Regions from separate parts of the Homo sapiens genome. Here region 1 is linked to region 2. The links are contacts of gene promoters, found by promoter capture Hi-C in blood cells and fetal thymus (Javierre and others, 2016). All regions are on one chromosome and are shown on one strand. The core of a region is centred on a gene start or on the middle of the fragment in contact, and the rest is flanking DNA. Distances in the headings are between cores, read along the strand shown.

The links. Contacts are between HindIII fragments. The CHiCAGO score rates a contact against its expected background, and 5 or more counts as called.
Region 1: a fragment that was not itself captured here is called in contact with the fragment with the promoter of HNRNPA2B1 in region 2 in 1 of 17 cell types (naive B cells); the score reaches 5.5 in naive B cells.

Annotation. Positions count from the first base shown.
Region 1 is chr7:28,155,097-28,157,802 of GRCh38, forward strand. All of the region lies in intron 1 of JAZF1 (JAZF zinc finger 1), which reads right to left. Among named protein-coding and RNA genes, the nearest start is that of JAZF1-AS1, 24 kb to the right of the region's middle. The HindIII fragment of the contact is 2,804 bases long and covers 1-2,666 here.
Region 2 is chr7:26,199,296-26,201,995 of GRCh38, forward strand. HNRNPA2B1 (heterogeneous nuclear ribonucleoprotein A2/B1) reads right to left here and starts at 1,451. Exons shown (of 11, transcript NM_002137.4): 1 at 1,277-1,451. The coding sequence starts at 1,282. CBX3 (chromobox 3) reads left to right here and starts at 2,450. Exons shown (of 6, transcript NM_016587.4): 1 at 2,450-2,531. RefSeq lists enhancers at 1-866, 775-894, 867-1,839, 1,005-1,394 and a silencer at 2,335-2,700. The HindIII fragment of the contact is 8,290 bases long and covers 1-2,700 here.

The DNA.
Region 1 (2,706 bases), core at 15-2,514, 2.0 Mb after region 2:
AGTCACTAATGAAAATGATTGGGAGGGGGGATGGAAAGGAGGCTGCAGTAAAAACACACTGTATATTTTCTGGAACATATGATGAAACAGAAGGTTTCACTTCTTGTTTCAACCATTTTAGCACCTTCTCCTTTTACTCAATTTCAGGGCATGAAAGAGACTGGGCAGTTGTGCAGAATATGAGGAGAACTCATTTTGAGAGAAGATTAAAACCTGGCCCACTAATAAACTATCTTCAGTTACTGTACACATCAGTCAAACCAAATAATTCACTCTCAGTTTAACTCATTCTACAGGGCTCTGGAATAATACATCACTCTTCTGATAGAGGCACAAGTCCATTAATTACCAAACTGTGCTGCCACAGAGTTATACGGTCTTCATTCTTCCCCTATAAAGTGTGTTTTAGTTTTCGAGGCAAGAGGAGAAATTCAGAGGGGAAATGAGTAATTTAGGAACCTTTTACAGCTCTCTGGCCTGCACTAAGTAATCCTTTCTTCCCTTTCAGAGTTAATCATCAAAGGTACTGAACACAGTATGGAGGGCCTGGCCACCCATGCCCATTCAGCAACTACAACCTCCACCTAAATTCAGAATTATCATACAAGAAATGACCCATGCAGAAGAGACCAAGAGAAACAACCACATCTAGGCTGTGACAGCACAGAATGTATGTGTGTGTCTGTGTGTGTGTGCACGCGCACATGGGAAGTATAGGAACCAAATACCTGGGTCCAAATTCTAACCCTGCTTCTTCCTGGGAAGATGATCTTGTGCAAATTAACCTCACAATGCCTCTGCTTTTTGATCTGGAAAATTATCTTAAGGGTATAAGGGTACCTACCTGATAAGGTGTCTATGAGGTTACATAAGCTAATGTAGGTAATGTCCAAATCACAGTAGCTGGTATGTACATATACATACACCCTTGATAGATACCTTATTCATTCAATCCAAATTGCCACTCACTCCAGCACACTGGTATCTCTGGCTGCCAAGAGTTATGCAACAACATACTTAAACACCAAATCATCTAAATCATTTGGGTGGAACCATCGATCCTTAACCAGGCTTGTGAAAGGTTCTCTTGGCTCTGTTTACTTTGGACAGGCATCAAGCGTCTGTTTTCCTCAGAATCTGAAAGTCACTGGGTCAAGGCTGTAGAGGCCCCTTTTCACACAGAGGAACCAGTCAAGGACTGAGATTGCTCTGTGTGGTGGTGGTGGTCACCTGGCCAATTGCATGGGGAGTCACTTCGTGGCTTTGGCAGAGTCTGCCACTGTCTGCTAGAATAAATGTGGAGCCAAAATATGATTTGTCTATTTTGACTTGTGTACATTTTCTGAGTACAAGAGACTATTGATAAGAAGTTTAGGTAAGTGGAGAAAATGTTTGTTGATTCCCCAGAAAGCACAAAATGTTCATTCAGTGAAGAGAGAAGACCATTCGCTCATTATAGTTATGAATTAACGCTACATCTTCTACAGCAGAGGTTCCCAAGAGTGTATTGAAATTACCTGGGAATTTGTTGAAACACAAATTGCTGGGTCTCAGCCCCATAGTTTCTGATTTCGTAGGTGTGGGGCAAGAGGACACAGTGTTGAGAATCTGCACATCTAATACAATAATCCAGAAAATACTGCTGCTGCTTGTCCAGAGACCACTCTTGGAGACCACTGCTCTATAAGCAAGAGTACGTCACCAAGAAATTTAAATTCAGATCCTAGAACTAGAACACTACCAAGCAAGGGGGGAAATCATTCTTATGAGACAGTCATTGAATGAATGCATGAATCAAAGGGCAGATAAATACCTTCTCTTCCATCATATGCTACATTTCCCATATTTGTTTATACCGGACTCCATACTACGTATAAATAAAGACAGTCTTCAATATCCATTAAGATGACCTTCGATATCCTTCAACCAACCACAGTGGATTCTGAAAGCATACATACATGTGCATGCACACAGCCCCTGTGGTGGTCTGCTCAATGTAACTCAATCTCCTCTCTCCTTCCTTTTAATAGCAGAACCTCCAGAGTGTCTGCTGGGCAAATGGCTGCCCAGCTGCAGACTGATCTCCTCAGCACCCCCACAGCTAGGTGTGCCCACTAAGTCCCTCTTCCCACAGGCTGATAAGCAGACAAAGTGAGAGGAGGCTGGCCTCAAGCACTGAGTCAGGACCACAGCCTAGAGTAGAAGGTGGCAAAGTTCCTTTGTAAAGAGCCAGACAGTGAATATTTTTGGCTTTGTGGGCCCTATCAGCTCTATCACAATTATTCAACTCTGCCATTGCAGCACAAAAGCAGTCACAGACGGTATAAAAATAAGGAGTATGACTGTGTTCCAATAAAACTTTATTTATGGACGTGAAATCTGAGTTGCAAATAATTTTCACATTTTTTCCAACCATTTAAAAATGTAAAAGCTATTCTTAGTATGCGGGCTGTACAAAAACAGGAGACAGGCCAAATCTGTCCCAAGGGCAGCAATTTGCCAACCCCTGCCCGATGGGAAGATGACACAAGACAGAAGGAACCCATCCTTAGACAGCTTCGTGGAGGAGACATACTATCCACCCTGAACCACAGTCTACTTCCATTCGTGACAGAGACAGCTTTTATCTTCTTTTAAACAATTGATTTCAGGGTCCCTGTTAATGAAGCTTAGCATGTAATGCTAACTCATGCACCTACATACACA
Region 2 (2,700 bases), core at 201-2,700:
TGAGACCTTATGCTTATCAATGTAATGTTCAACCAAGATTGCAAACAAAATGAGAAAAGTAACAAAGTTCAAATACAGAGCGGCCCAGGCCCAAAACAGTTTTGCACATCAATCCATACGCATTACAGGAAGGAGCCTCTGAAGCCATGTTTTAATCGAAGTATAACTAAGGACAAAATCGTTATTTCACTTTCCTCGTAATCATCTATAAAGGTCCATGGATCTGTCCCGTAAGGGTTAAACTTCTCAGTAACAACATTACTTAAAATGAGTCAGCTCTACAACTTAAACGGAATCCTTAAGAACAGTAAAGGATTCTGACGCGAATATCCCTCCCCCGCCCAGAAAACCACCTTCGTCCCTGCCCCTCGTGGCCGATGGCTTCCAATTTATGTTTATTTTGCCGCGGTTCATCTGTCGTTTTACTGACTGCAGACCCAGATAAAACCGTTACTCAAAGGAAAAAAAAGACAGGAAAAACATAAAATGGTTTCTTTGTCCTACGGCTCGCATTGAACCCGGCCCGACGCCCTGGGTGGTGATATCTTCTCTGAAACCGGGCCCGCAAACCCGGAGCACCCCCCCTCCCCGCTCTTCGGTGTGGCTTCCGAACGCAATGGCGCCATTTCATCGAGGGGAAGGCTGAGCGCCTTTAATGAGGTGCGCAGGACTCTAAAGATCCAAGCTCACAAAACACTCCAAATCCACCTCGAAACGATATGAAAACAGCCCGAGAAGAAAAAAAAATAGTTAACCACTTCTACTTCTTGATAGAGAAAGCACACTAAGAAAATAAAAGAGTTATAAGGAAAACGCTGAGAGGAAGGCGAGCCATGAAAATGGCGGCCGCCAAATCCGGTTCCCGGGAGAGAGGGGGAGGGGAAGCTCCGCAGCCTCGCTCACGAGGACCTGCTGCCCGCCGAAACGCTCGCCGAGGAGACGCCGTGGCCCCCGAAGCAGCGTGCTTTAGAAAGGGAATAAGAATTCCCGCCTCCGCGCCCCACTTTCACCCCAGCGGGGCAGCGTCCGCCATGTGAAAGCTCCCCATCCCCCACCCCCAGTGAAGGGAAATGGCGCCGGGAGGCTGAGGGTGGGGAAGCTGTTTGTACGCTCAGGCCTCCGCTCAAGACCCCGTTCATAAACCTTAAGCCCCACTGCTACTGAATTGGTCCGATTTCCTGCCTCTCTCCCACGGAGGCGGCTGGCCGACTTCCACTGAGGCGCCAACGGCCTCGCCATGCCCTTTTCAATAACTCATTGATTTCAAACCCGTTACCTCCATCGCGGACTCAGTCGCTTCAGCCCGATTTCCCGCAGCCGAGCGAGATGAGAGAGATCTCCGCGGACGAACACGAACCGGACTCGTCCTGGCGCTGTAGTGAGAACTGCCGCTGCTCGAGAAACAACTCTGCGAGGAGCACCTCCGCACGGGACCCGGCGCTGCTGCTACTGCCGCTAGAGCCGCTGCCGCCGCTTTTCTAGAACCTTCCCCCCCACTAACGCGTCTTCCGCTACGTCAGGCCGTCGCGTAAACGCCCTATCCGCCGCCAATGGCGGGAAGGCTCTACGCCCCACCTTACGCCAAATGCGTACTCCTCCCACCCTTGCGGCCAGAGACAGTACCCGACGTTACTTCCGTAAATGCGCTCAATGAATTGCGGAAGGCTAGAGTCCTGCTAGTTACTACCTCTTGGAATAGGGTCCCGCCCCCTGCCTTGGCGCAAGGCAGGTGAGAAACGGTCGCGCAGTTTGAAATTAACGCCGACGGGAGGGGCTTAATCCGCAGCCTGGAGATCCAGCCCCCTCAACCCGGGAGGTGGTCCCTGCAGTTACGCCAATGATAACCCCCGCCAGAAAAATCTTAGTAGCCTTCCCTTTTTGTTTTCCGTGCCCCAACTCGGCGGATTGACTCGGCCCCTTCCGGAAACACCCGAATCAACTTCTAGTCAAATTATTGTTCACGCCGCAATGACCCACCCCTGGCCCGCGTCTGTGGAACTGACCCCTGGTGTACAGGAGAGTTCGCTGCTGAAAGTGGTCCCAAAGGGGTACTAGTTTTTAAGCTCCCAACTCCCCCTCCCCCAGCGTCTGGAGGATTCCACACCCTCGCACCGCAGGGGCGAGGAAGTGGGCGGAGTCCGGTTTTGGCGCCAGCCGCTGAGGCTGCCAAGCAGAAAAGCCACCGCTGAGGAGACTCCGGTCACTGTCCTCGCCCCGCCTCCCCCTTCCCTCCCCTTGGGGACCACCGGGCGCCACGCCGCGAACGGTAAGTGCCGCGGTCGTCGGCGCCTCCGCCCTCCCCCTAGGGCCCCAATTCCCAGCGGGCGCGGCGCGCGGCCCCTCCCCCCGCCGGGCGCGCGCCCGCTGCCCCGCCCTTCGTGGCCGCCCGGCGTGGGCGGTGCCACCCCTCCCCCCGGCGGCCCCGCGCGCAGCTCCCGGCTCCCTCCCCCTTCGGATGTGGCTTGAGCTGTAGGCGCGGAGGGCCGGAGACGCTGCAGACCCGCGACCCGGAGCAGCTCGGAGGCGGTGAAGTCGGTGGCTTTCCTTCTCTCTAGCTCTCGCTCGCTGGTGGTGCTTCAGATGCCACACGCGTCCCGGGGGCCCGGTTCTCCGCTCCCCTCCCCTCCCCTTCTCGCCGGACCCCGCGCCGGGAGCTGCGGGAAGGAGTGGAGGGTCGGGCGGTGGCCTCGCGGCTGGCCT